Linked DNA regions of Homo sapiens: all the other regions are linked to region 1. The links are contacts of gene promoters, found by promoter capture Hi-C in blood cells and fetal thymus (Javierre and others, 2016). All regions are on one chromosome and are shown on one strand. Each heading gives the region's core, a stretch centred on a gene start or on the middle of the fragment in contact. The rest is flanking DNA. Distances are from core to core; before and after follow the strand shown. Region 1 holds the start of CACNA1S (calcium voltage-gated channel subunit alpha1 S). Region 2 overlaps KIF14 (kinesin family member 14). Region 3 has its middle 72 kb from the start of KIF14.

Region 1 (4,737 bases), core at 279-2,778:
ATTAGGCAGCAAGTCTGGAAAGAGCTAGAGAAAGCAAGGGAGGAAGCGAGGGAGTTGTTTGGGGGTGGATGGGGAGGCATATTACGTAGTTGGGCTTGACAGAAAAATCCCATTCTCTTCCCAGTAACCTCCAGTGTTTGAGAAAAGAGGAGGGCCACAGGGGCAGGGCGCAGAGGAGCAGAGGATGGAGGAGAGGGAGAACCCACAGAGTAAACCTGATTGCAGAAGAGAGGCAAGGAGGGAGGGCCTAGGAGGGTTTGATGTGGGCGATATACCGCCTGGCCGAGAGCGGGTCAGGGGAACAGGGCTGACCCTGACCCCAAACTATCTCTACTTGCCCCACGTTTCTCTTGTCCTTCCAGTTATCCCTCATTCTCCTTCCTTCTAGGGAACAGCTGGTAGGAGCCCAGCCTTCCAGAACTCTTCAGAAATATTTCAAATATGCCCCACCCTCGCTCTCAGAACCCACTTGACACAGCCCTCCCCTTCTCTCTGTCACTCCTTCCTCCCTTCCCCAAATAACCCAGATATTTTCATCATTCTCCCCACCAGAGCAAATGCAAACATAGCATGAGTTTCAAAGTCCCTGTCCCCAGGGTGGCACGTCTGAGCTAGAACAACCAGGCTTGTTTGGCCTGTGTCTTGGAGCCACTGAGACCAGGTGTCTTTCAGATCCATTTCTCCCCTTGGCTCTGTCCTCAGCTGGGACCTGCCCCCAGAGGAAGCCTTCCTTCAGCTCACCTCTGTCCACTGTCACCCCCCACCCAACCCAAACAAGGGAGAGTTTTCTCAAAGAGGCCATCGCATCTTTTTTTGGTCCCTATCCTATTCTAAAATGAGGCTGGTGCTTCAAAAACCTAGTGGCACCCCATGATAATGTGGATTTGGGCACACATGGGAACAGTCCCCATGAAACAGGCCCCACCCATAGGTGGTCAGTAGGCATCTCTGGTTGTCATCCAGGACTTGGGTGGCCCACTCAGGCCCAGGAAGCCCCACCAAGTCCTCCTTCTCTTCCTCTTCCTCCTCCTCCTCTTCCTCCTCCTCCCCCACCCTCCTCCTCTTCCTCCTCCTCCCCCACCCTCCTCGTCTTCCTCCTCTTCCTCCTCCTCCTCTCCTGCTTAGCCGAGGGCTCCTTCCCCCAGCTCCTCACTCAATTCTGTGAGTTCACCCCATGTCTAAGTGCCAGGCCTCCCTGGCCCTCCTGTAGGAAGTTTGTGCTCTGTGATCACCCCGAATCCCTCCCTCATGACGCACACCCCCCCCCACGGCCCGGGCCCTGAAGGATACTTCCATTCTACAATGCTGATGCAGGCCTTCCTCAGGGGGTTCTCCAGGGTCAGGCAGAACAAGGCCCGGGGTGGCCTTGGCAGAATCTCAGGAACTGGCTTCTTGGGCTGTTTCTTCCTCAGGCCTTCATCCTGGGGTGAGGATGGCTCCATGGCTTCCCTGGGAATCTGGCTTTCTCCTGCTCCCCCACCCCAGTGCTTTCCCTTCCCTGTGTCCCCAATGCCCCCGCCTTGGGGACTAGGCTGGCTGAGGCTGTCGGCTGAGCCTGCCCTGCTGAGCCAGCCAGGGGGCGGGGGCAGGAGTGGGGGCAGGAGGATTACTCTCCTCGCTCCCAGCAAGTAAAATTAGCCTCCACTCGGCTCCCCGCTGCCGGGCCTGAGCTTCTGAGGCCAGGCAGCTGTCATTCCACCCAGCCCAGCCAGTGACTTCCCAATCTGTCCCCTGAGGAGGGTGGGGTGGGTCGGGGGAAGAACTTACACACAGGCCTGGGATGGGGCAGGGGCAGTGGGAGAGGGAGACAGGATGGAAGGTTTCAAGCCTGGGGCAACAGAGGTCAGGAATAGGTAGCCTTGGATATGGAACCTCAAACTGCAGAGTGGCCCCCTCATGCCAAAATTAGGCTTACCCCTCCTCAGCCCCATGACATTGTCTGGAGAAGGCACTGGGCAGCCTAAGTCAGGACAGCTCCACAGCAGCCCCTACCCATCTCAGTATCTGCACCATCAGCCAAAACTCCCCAAGCATACCCTCAACCCACCCCCACAAGCAATCCCATGTCAGAGAAACAGTAAACCCCTCTCCAGTGGGCTAGAAGGCTCCCAGAACAACCCTGAGTGTGCACACCTCTGGCATAGCACCTGCCTCACTGTGGAGCATCTGCTGTGTATCTTTCTTCCCCATCTCCTCCCATCCCTACAGGTGTAAAGGTTGTGTGCATTATCTCTGGGACTCTGGCCCCTTCTCTGCACAGTCCCCCTATGTACTATGCTCCCTGTAAATGTTCACTGAGGCCAGGCATGGTGGCTCACGCCTGTAATCCCAACACTTTGGGAGGCTGAGGTGGGAGAATGGCTTGAGCTCAGGACTTCAAGACCAGTCGGGGCAACGTAGTGAAACTCTGTCTCTACAAAAAATACAAAAATTAGCAGGGTATGGTGGTGTGTGTTTGTAGTCCCAGCTACTAGGGGGGCCAAGGTGGGAGGATCAGTTGAGCCTGGGAGGTTGAGGCTGCAATGAGCCAAGATCTGGCCACTGCACTCCAGCCTGGATGACAGAGTGAGACAGAGTGAGACCTTGTCTCAAAAAGAAAAGTTCATTGAGGATAGCCACGGTAATCCCAGCACTTTGGGAAACCAAGGTAGGTAGATAACTTGAGGTGAGGAATTCGAGACCAGCATGGCCAACATGGTGAAACCCGCATTCTACTAAAAATACCAAAGATTAGCGGGCGTGGTGGTGTGCACCTATAATCCCAGCTACTCTGGAGGCTGAGGCAGGAGAATTGCTCAAACCCAGGAGAAGGAGGTTGCAGTGAGCAGGGATTGAATCACTGCACTCCAGTCTGGGCAACAGAGCAAAACCTGTCTCAAAAAAAAAAAAAAAAAAAAAAAAATTCATTGAACGCCTGAGCTAACAACACTGAATCTTAAATGTGCTGAGCTAACAGCGAACCCCACATATCCTCCCAGCAAGTACTCTGGGCTGGGAGTGAGAATAAGAAAGGGGCACCAGGAAGGGTGAGGGTAGACAATGATCTAGGAATGAGAAAATTCAACAATCCTTTTATTTAGCTCTTTGGTGCCGACGCAGTGCCTATGTACCTATATGCACGCCCCCCTCCCCCAAGGCTTACAGTCTGAGGGAAAAAAACCACAGTCCCCACCCAACCTGGGACAAAACTAGACGACCTCATGGGGGGGATGCGGGGAGGGAGTAACCCCCCCTCCCAACCCAGGAAGCCAGAGAACGCCACCGGGGCACACAGGTCGCCTCTGCTGAGTCTGTAGGTTCGGTCTGGGCTGAGCGCCAGCAGCAATCTGGCCTCCCATCCCTTCCTCTGGGTTCCTTTCTCGAGGAGTAAGCGTGCTCCCAAAGAAGTCGCTAGTATCTGAGGCCATCTGGTGGAGAGCAGTGGCATGGTAACCGAGGGCTCAAAGTCGGGCTCGCATCCCGGGGACTCGCAGAGACTGGACTGCGCCTGCGGCAAGGAAGGACGGAGCAGAGCCACCTGAGGCCGAGCGGGAGCCAGACCCAGGGATGACCGTCCTGGGGAGCCCCTCTGCACCCCGGAGGGGACGCAGGACGCCCGGAGCAGTCCCAGGCCCTGCCCCTCGCTTCACCCACGGAGCTCCTAGGTCTCTATCGTGCCCATCGTACCCGCTGCCCTGCACTTCCGCCCCAAGCTGGTGGAGGAGGGAGGGTGTCGCAGACACGGGAGCGCCGCGGACCTCCTACAGTCACCGTCCTGCGGCGCATCGCGGGTGACCCAACAGCCTCCCGCTGCTCCCGAAAGTGGGACGGGGCCGGCGGATCATCCTCCAAGCCGGGGGCGGCCACAGGCCCGATCAATGCCAGGATTCCTCCGACTCCAAGAAAGGCGACGGGGAGAAGCAGGAGGACTCGGATGACTCCGGCACCAGGGAGGAGGGCGCCCGGGCCTCGCCGTCGCCAGGGCGGTCGGGACGGGGGGTGGCGGGCGGCGCGGGGCAGGGCCCGGTGCCCGGGAGGCCGCGGGAAGCGGGGGGCGTCGAGCCGTCGGGGGCCGAGCTCAGCAGCTCTTGCAGGTACTTTATGTAGCGGATGGCGGCGCGCAGCGTCTCCACCTTGCTGAGTCGCTTCTCAGCCAGGGCGCCGGGGAGGTGGCCGCGGAGGCGAGCGTAGCCCTCGTTGACGCACTTGACTCGCTGCCTCTCGCGCTCGTTGCGCTTCTGGATGAAGGCTGGCTCGAAGGGGTATTCGTAGACCCCGAAGGCGCCGGGGAAGGGCACGTAGGGGAACACCCCCGCATAGGCGTCGTAGTAGGGCGGCTCTGCTGGGCCCGGGTACAGCAGGAAGGGCACGTTGCCCAGGGGCTCGGCGGGGGGCAGGGGCGCCTGCCGGGGAGGGGGCATGACGCCCAGCTGCATGCAGCTGGGGGGCCCCAGAGGCCTCCGGTCCACCAGAGCCCGGCAGAAGTTATTGTTCATGGTGCCGCGTGGAGCTGGACCCAGAGCGAGGCCTCCACCGAATGGCCCCGGCTTGGGGTCTGCACCGTCTCCACCAGTGGGGCAAGTCACATCGCTAGCAGCAGCTCTTGGGTACCAGGACTTGCTAGGGCCTCTTTTCGCCCTTTAGGGTGGCTTCCAATGACTCCCTAACAAGAGCCATCGCCCTAGACAAGTGTGGCCCCTCTCAGGAGGTCGGTGCACGCCTTCTCAGAGCCAGCCCATGGCGCCGCGGAACTCTGAG
Region 2 (4,286 bases), core at 1,285-3,784, 550 kb before region 1:
TTCTCCCACTATTCTAGTACTGCCTCTAAAATCTGAGAGCCAACTAAGCACTGACCATCCTTCAACAAGCTTCCTTTTCTAGGCTCAAACTTAAGTCAGACCCTTCGCTTCTGGCTCTCTAGCTTTGCTCTCTGGCCAATCCTACCTTTCATTTTCATGATTCTATGCTGTCAGAAATTCTCCTTCATCTACTATTTCATCCACACCTGTTTGCAGTCCACCCACCCCGCCACCCCTTGTTTTAGTCATCCTATTTCCTCATTACCTATATCCAAAGTCATCCTTCATCCCATATGAATTTATAATTAATTCAATAACAAGTATCCAACCAAACATCTATCACATAATGGTGCCTTGTGAAAAAAGACACCCACTGTCCTCTACCTTCTTAGAGCTAACTGTCCATTGAGATGTACAGGCTTATAAATAGTATGTTATATTAAAAGTCATAACGGGTGAAGTTTAGGGTTATCAGAGAAGCAAATAAGACAGGTGCCTAACCAAGTCTTGGGGAGACCTAGAAAATCCTCCTGAGGGAGAACAACGGACATTAAAAACAATCATCTGATTTCAAGTTTACTAGTTAGATCAGTTAAAGATTTCCAAATCCCAGCTAGTAAATAGCCCATTCAGGAAGTATTTGACACAACAAAAATTCTACTGCAATAATAGAATGTGGAAAGTCTTTCGGTGGGCACTATAACATAAAATTTGTTCAATTGTTCTATAACATTTTATTACATGGTCTAATTATCCTTTTTTAAAAGTGAAATCTAACCCTCTTAGTATTTTCTTTTTTTAAATAGTTTACTTTTTGTTATTATTATTGAGACATGGTCTCACTCTGTCATCCAGGCTGGAATGCAGTGGTGCAATCATGGCTCACTGTAGCTTCGAACTCCTGGGCTCAAGCAATCCTCCCACCTCAGCCTCCCAAGTAGCTGGGACCACAGGTACATGCCACCAAAAAATCAGCTGGCTGATTTTTTTTATGTTTTTAGAGACAAAGTATCTAACAAGTTGGATATTTGTTATTATTCACTATGTTGCCCAGGCTGGTCTCAAAGTCCCAGGCTTAACTGATCCTCCTGCCTCAGCCTCCCAAAGTCCTAGTATTATAGGCATGAGCCACTGTACTCGGCCATTAATTTCTTATCTGCTCCTTTTGCATATCAAGGAATTTTTAAGAAGGAATTTGTTAATATGGTAGATGACTAAGTATTCTCCAATATCAATTTTCCACTTCTTCCACAGATCCCTTGATTTCTGGCTTGGCACATAGGTGTCCAGAATTTTTTTAAAAAATACATTTCCTCATGATACTTGCAGCTAGATGTAGTCAAATGATAAAATTCTAGCCAGATATATAAATAGATGTGGCATATGGTGATTTCCAGAAACCTCCCTTAAAAGAAGGCAAACTTCAGCCGGGCGCAGTGGCTCATGCCTGTAATCCCAGCACTTTGGGAAGCTGAGGGGGGCGGATCACCTGAGGTCAGGAGTTCGAGACTAGCCTGGCCAACATGGTGAAACCCCATCTCTACTAAAAATACAAAAATTAGCCGAGCATGGTGGTGAGTGCCTGTAATCCTAGCTACTCGAGAGGCTGAGGCAGGAGAATCGCTTGAACCCAGGAGCAGAGGGGCAGTGAGCCAAGATCACGCCACTGCACTCCAACCTGGGTGACAAGAGTGAGACTCCAGCTCAAAAAAAAAAAAAAAAAAAGGCAAACTTTGCCCTATCCTTCTCACCACTCCTTCCACCCTGCTGTGCTGAGCTCAGATGGGGCTCCTCCATAGTGGGTCATGAAATCAGGGGCTACACTTTGGGCATGGCGGATGGGACCAATGGGAGGAGCCTGGATCCTGAGGACTCTGTGGATCAGAGCCACTGTGTCTACATCTAGATTTTATGTGAGAGAGAATAAGCTTTCATCTTACTTCTTCTTACAGCCAAACCTAATCTTATCTGATACAAGATAAGCAGGAAAACAAAATTATTTCCTTGTCTCTATGTCAGCAGAATTGTGGCCAATTCAGTCTGAGTTGAAATCCAATCCCATACCCAGAGAAAGACTCTGTCTCTCTTCCCAGTATCCCTTATTGAGGGCCAGCATGGTATAATGGCAGAGCATGAACTGGGCCCAAGACTGCCTGGGTCCAAATCCAACTCAGTCATTTACTAGTTAGGTAACATTGGATGGTATATTTATTTTCCCTGTGCCTCCATTTCCTCATCTACAAGATGGTGATAACAACAGTGCCCACTGCTGGGGTTGTTATAAGGATTAAATGAGTTAATATTTGTAAATCACTTAGAACTACTCATACATAGAGAGCCATGTAAGTCTTTGTTTAACAAATCAATTACAGACAACCACAGTCTCAGAACTTCAAAACAGAATGTACTTTTGAAAATCATACAGAGCTAATTTTGGGGAAGATATAGACAGTAGAAAGCCAATAAATAATTATTAAATGAATCCTTCAAATGATAATAAGCAAATCAATTTACCTGCAAAAATAACTGTAAGTAGCCTCCCAGTTTTTTAACTTCTTGTCTCAACTCATCCTCAAGTCTTGCTATGTTGGTACAAGGCAGTAAATCACTCAGCCAGTGTTTCATTAGCACTACTAGCTGCTCAAAAGCACATGCAGTCTGAATAGTAAGTGACTGGATTGCTCGATCAGAAGAAAACACTTTGAAAGAAGAAGAAAAATTACTGAATGAAATATTATCCAAATAAAAGAACTCATATATGATCATCATTAAAACATTTAACACAGTTAAAAGATGCATGCCAGATGTGCCAAATAATCACTCAAAACAAAGTGCAATGTGCAGAAAATAATCATTTATGTGAGTTAACAAAAGCAGTGAGATTGCTTACAGTTATCTTGACTTTCTTCATCTTGTTCTTCATGAGCCTTGGAAATGGCAAATAGCCCATTATAAATTTTAAGAAAACTATTAATTAGGCTGTCTGCTATAGTTCTTTCTTCATCATAACTCTGTCCAAAAAAATCTAACGAAGAACCAATCAATTCTTTGCAAATTCCAGGAAGAAAGGACTCTGCTGAATTTGAGTAAATAGTGCTTGATTTGTCCATTAAACCTACATCAACAGAAAATAGCCATTTTAAGCTTGTTTTCAGGAATAATACTTTCTTTTTTAAAAAAAGGGATCCTTACTTTATGTACTTCTGCATTACTGAAATGTATTACAACAACAAAGCATTTTTGTGTTCACTGTGGAATTAGAAAAACAAAACTATTAGTATATATAACATCGTATGCTATGTTGTACTTGTAAGTATATCTTCCATGCTATACTTGTGTATGTTGATTTCCAGGGTGCTCCATAATGCTAATTCTGCAGAAACTACCCCTCTGCTGCTTGCAAATATTACTCGTATACTATTGCTCTTCCAAAAATGTTCAGGCATAATACTTTCAAACAAATGTTTTATTGCAAGCATATTATAGGATCACTGATCAATAAATTCAAAGTAGGCTATACTTATTTCAATTCAGCCTCATTTCTATATGCTAAAGTGAAAACACAATTCCATTCACGGATCAATTAACCTCTCAACCGCATCAATCCATAGATTTAGTAGCTCCCTGACTATACTATGAGACAATAGAGAATCCAAATATCCCACGTAACCACTGGGTTAATCTCTTTCTTTACTCTATGGTAGGAATTAATTTTCTTTTCTTTCTTTCTTTTTTTTTTTTTAAGAGACAGGGTTGGGCCAGGCACGGTGGCTCATGCCTGTAATCCCAGCACTTTGGGAGGCCGAGGCAGGCAGATCACGAGGTCAGGAGATCGGGACCATCCTGGCTAACGTGGTGAAACCCCATCTCTATTAAAAATACAAAAAAATTAGCTGGGCGTGGTGGCACACGCCTGTAGTTCCAGCTACCCGGGAGGCTGAGGCAGGAGAATTGCTTGAAGCCAGGAGGCGGAGGTTACAGTGAGCCGATATGGCACCACTGCACTCCAGCCTGGGCAACAGAACAAGACTCTGTCTCAAAAAAAAAAAAGAGAGACAGACAGGGTCTTGCTCTGTTGCCCAGGCTGGAATGCAGTGGTTACTCACAAGCGTGATCATAGCACACTGAGCCTCAAACTCCTGGGCTCAAGCAATCCCTTGGCCTCAGCGTCCACAGTAGGTGGGACAACAAGCATGTACCACTATGTCTGGTGGGATTAATTTTCCCTAAAGAACTGTAATTGATGAAAACAATGACAGTTACATAAAATTAGAAGTATAATTGGA
Region 3 (4,368 bases), core at 316-2,815, 560 kb before region 1:
TTCTAATATTTAAAAGACCTGGTGGAGAATAAGAAGCTCATGAAAGAGATGAAAAAAGAACAATCAGAAAACTCAGGCATATTCTACTGTGGAGACATGAGAGGAAAGAATTTCCAAAGAAAGGGAGCAATTAAGTGAGATTAAGACTGAAAAATCCCTTTGGCTTTTGTAATTAAAAGTTAACTGATGACCTAGGTGAGAGCAGTTTCAGCTGGGGGAGTTGAGGCAGAGGGCAGTGGGGTGACTGGGGAGAGAAGGAGGGGAAAATGGTGATCACCCATCACAGCACCCAAAACAGGAGGCTGGAGAGACAAAAAGGGAGAAGAAAATGGGCAAATATCTGGCATCGCAATTTGTGCTCATCATCACTAATCATCAGGGAAGTGCAAACCAAAACCACAATGAGATTTCATCTCACACCTGTTAAGATGGCTGTGATCAAAAAGACAAGAGGTAAATGTTGGCAAGGATGTAGAAAATAGGGGACCCGGCCGGGCAAGGTGGCTCACGCCTGTAATCCCAGCACTTTGGGGGGCTGAGAAGGGCGGATCACAAGGTCAGGAGATTGAGACCAGCCTGGCCAATATGGTGAAACTCCGTCTCTACTAAAAATACAAAAATTAGCCAGGCGTGGTGGCACGCACCTGTAACCCCAGATACTCAAGAGGCTGAGGCAGGAGAATCGCTTGAACCCGGGAGACAGAAGTTGCAGTGAGCTGAGATCATGCCACTGCACTCCACCCTGGGTGACAGAGTGAGACTCTGTCTCAAAAAAAAAAAAAAGAAAGAAAAAAAGAAATTAGGGGGCCCTTGTACACTGTTGGTGGGAATGTAAACTGGTATAGCCATTATAGAAAAAGGTATGGAGATTCCTCAAAAACTAAAAATAGAACTACCATATGACTGAGCCATCCCTCTTCTGGGTATATACCCAGAGAAAATGAAATTAGCACCCTGTAGAGATAGCTGCATTCCCATGTTCATTGCAGCAATATTCACAATAGCTAAGATCTGGAAACGACCTAACTGTCCATCTGTCCATTGATGGATGAATGGATAAAGAAAATGTTACACACACACACACACGTACGCACACACACACACGTACACACACACACACAAACAGGAATATTCTGCCTTAAAAAAGGAAATTTTGCCACTTGTCACAACGTGGAGGAAGCTTGAGGAAGTTGTGCTAAGTGAAATAGCAGACACAGGAAGACAAATACTGTATGATCTCACTTGTGTGAGGATTCTTAAAAAGTCAAATTCATAGAAGCAGAGAGGTGAAGGCTGTTTGCCAGGGGTTGGGGGTAGGGTGAGGAGAATGGAGAGATGCTGATCAAATTATACAAACTTTCATTTATCAGAAGAATGAATTCTGGGAGTCTAATGTATAGCAAGGTGTATAATAATACTGTATATAGTAGGCCAGGCGCGGTGGCTCATGCCTGTAATCCCAGCACTTTGGGAGGCCGAGGAAGGCGGATCACGAGGTCAGGAGTTCGAGACCAGCCTGATCAACATGGTAAAACCCTGTCTCTACTAAAAAATACAAAAATTATCCGGGAATTGTGGTGGGCACCTGTAATCTCAGCTACTCAGGAGGCTGAGGCAGGAGAATCACTTGAACCCAGGAAGTGGAGATTGCAGTGAGCCGAGGTCCTGCCCCTCCACTCCAGCCTGGGTGACAGAGTGAGGCTCCATCTAAAAAATAAATTAAAAAAAAAATAATGCTGTATAGTATACTTGAAATTTGCTAAGAGTAAATTTTAGGTGTCCTTACCCCCTACACGCACATTCACAAATAGTAACTACATATGGTGATATGGTGATGAATGTGTTGATTGTAGTAATGATTTCACAATGTGTTTGTATATCAAACCATCACATTGCACACCTTGAATATACACAATTTATTTGTTAATTACACCTCAATAAAACTGGGGAAAAAGCTTTATTTTTTTTTTTTTGAGACGGAGTTTTGCTCTTGTCACCCAGGCTGTAGTGCAATGGTGCCATCTCGGCTCACCACAACCTCTACCTCCCAAGTTCAAGTGATTCTCCTGCCTCAGCCTTCCGAGTAGCTGAGATTACAGGCATGTGCCACCACGCCCGGCTAATTTTGTATTTTTAGTAGAGATGGGGTTTCACCATATTGATCAGGCTGGTCTTGAACTCCCGACCTCAGTTGATCTGCCTACCTCGGCCTCCCAAAGTGCTGGGATTACAGGCATGAGCCATCATGCCTGCTCTTTTTTTGTTTGTTTTTTAAATAAAGACCAGGTCTCATTATGTGGGCCAGGCTGGTCTCGAATGCCTGGGCTCAAGTGATCCTCCCATCTTGGCCTCCAGAAGTGCTGGGATTATAGGTGTGAGCCACCGTGCTTGGCCCGTAAACACACACACACACACACACACACACACACACACACACATATATATATATATATATATTTTTTTTTTTTTTTGAGACAGAGTCTTGCTCTGTCGCCAGGCTGGAGTGCCATGGTGCAATCTCGGCTCACTGCAACCTCTGCCTACCGGGTTCAAGTGATTCTCCTGCCTCAGCCTCCCGAGTAGCTGTGACTACAGGCGAAGCTAATTTTTGTGTTTTTTGGTAGAGTCAGGGTTTCACCATGTTGGCCAGGATGGTCTAGATCTCTTAGCCTCGTGATCCATCCATCTCAGCCTCCCAAAGTGCTGGGGTTATAGACGTGAGCCACCATTTTAAAAAGAGGGGGATGTAGGGCCATAGAAAGCGATATCCATTTTCCAAATTTCAGAGATTCTCCATCTTCTTAGTGGACAGCACAATCTGCTCTTCGTGAAAATGAGGCCCCCTAATGGGCAGATGCTCGCTCTTTAGACAAATTCAGAGGTTTTCACTGAATATTAGCCAGAGAAACGAAAGCCTGTGACTTACCACAAAATCGCTCTTAAATTCTTTTTTTTTTTTTTTTTTTGAGATGGAGTTTCACTCTTGTCGCCCAGGCTGGAGTGCAATGTGGCCATCTCAGCTCACTGCAACCTCCGCCTCCCGGGTTCAAGCGATTCTCTTGCCTACGCCTCCTGAGTAGCTGGGATTACAGGCGCGTGCCACCACGCTTGGTTAATTTTTGTATTTTTAGTAGAGACGGGGTTTCACCTTGTTGGTCAGGCTTGTCTCGAATTTCTGACCTCAGGTGATCCACCCACCCCCGGCCTCCTAAAGCGCTGGGATTACAGGCGTGAGCCACCGTGCTCGGCTAAATTCTTTAAAAAACCTATGATTCTCTGAGTTTAGGACCATTCAGCAACAGGAAATATGCAGTTTCCAGTTGCCATTTGCTTAATCAAAAGTTTACCCCTGAATTCTGTCTTGAATAAGTCAGCGATTCTCTGGTGGTTCTCCTGTATGTTCGAGTGTAGTGTGTGTTTTTTGTTTGGTTTTTTGTTTGTTTGACAGTCTCCCTTGGTCTCCCAGGCTGGAGTGCAGTGGCGCAATCTTGGCTCACTGCAACCTCTGCCTCCCAGGTTCAAGCAATTCTCATGCCTCAGCCTCCCGAATAGCTGGGATTATAGGCATGCACTGCCATGCCTGTTTATTATTGTTTTTTTTAGACAGAGTCTCGCTCTATCACCCAGGCTGGAGTACAGTGGCGTGATCTAGGCTCACTGCAACCTCTACCTCCTGGGTTCAAGCCATTCTCCTGCCTCAGCCTCCTGTGTAGCTAGGATTACAGGCGTGCCATGCGCCACCATGCCGGCTAACTTTTGTGTTTTTAATAGTGTTGGGGTTTCACCACGTTGGCCGGGCTGGTCTCAAATTCCTGGCCTCAAGTGATTCACCCTCCTCAGCCTCCCAAAGTGTTGGGATTACAGGCATAAGCCACTGCACCCGACTTGAGTTTAGTGTGTTTAGAGGTCTTTGGCATCGAGAAAATATAATGTTATGAACAACTGGGATCCAACAAGTTGGGCCTTTCAAAAGTCCATGAGGCAATCTAATCTTTTTCAGGTTGCTATGGCTTAACACCAACAGCATACCTAGCATTAAGTAAATAATTATTAGAATGAATGAATGAACCTAGCTATCAGATACTAAAACAAACTAAATGGCCATGCTCCACATCTAAAAATCCCATAAACTAATATTGGCTAAAGGAAGAAAGATGGAAAAGCTCAGTCTTGATTATATCATGCAATGACTGTAACTTGCAAAATCCAGAGCACAAACTTACCTGATGAATCATGCACAGGAAGCTGGGCACATAAGCTTTTTTTTAACTGAACCAAACTACTGATACCTTTTCCCCTCACCTGTGATTAATTCTTACTTTCCATATTTAGGGAAAACCTTGAAATGCTTATTGGCACATAGTTAGG

What was found. Contacts are between HindIII fragments. The CHiCAGO score rates a contact against its expected background, and 5 or more counts as called.
Region 2: a contact is called between a fragment that was not itself captured here and the fragment with the promoter of CACNA1S in region 1, in 1 of 17 cell types (endothelial precursors). The highest score is 5.2, in endothelial precursors.
Region 3: a contact is called between a fragment that was not itself captured here and the fragment with the promoter of CACNA1S in region 1, in 1 of 17 cell types (endothelial precursors). The highest score is 5.4, in endothelial precursors.

What each region holds. Positions count from the first base shown.
Region 1 is chr1:201,110,898-201,115,634 of GRCh38, forward strand. CACNA1S (calcium voltage-gated channel subunit alpha1 S) reads right to left here and starts at 1,529. Exons shown (of 44, transcript NM_000069.3): 1 at 1,291-1,529. The coding sequence starts at 1,442. ASCL5 (achaete-scute family bHLH transcription factor 5) reads right to left here. Exons shown (of 2, transcript NM_001270601.2): 2 at 3,046-4,737. The coding sequence starts at 4,475. The coding sequence ends at 3,855. RefSeq lists a silencer at 3,656-3,705 and an enhancer at 4,356-4,737. The HindIII fragment of the contact is 9,593 bases long and covers 1-4,737 here.
Region 2 is chr1:200,562,555-200,566,840 of GRCh38, forward strand. It overlaps KIF14 (kinesin family member 14), which reads right to left. Exons shown (of 30, transcript NM_014875.3): 24 at 2,891-3,115; 25 at 2,515-2,699. Among named protein-coding and RNA genes, the nearest start is that of KIF14, 56 kb to the right of the region's middle. The HindIII fragment of the contact is 1,216 bases long and covers 1,927-3,142 here.
Region 3 is chr1:200,546,357-200,550,724 of GRCh38, forward strand. No RefSeq gene overlaps it. Among named protein-coding and RNA genes, the nearest start is that of KIF14, 72 kb to the right of the region's middle. The HindIII fragment of the contact is 775 bases long and covers 1,179-1,953 here.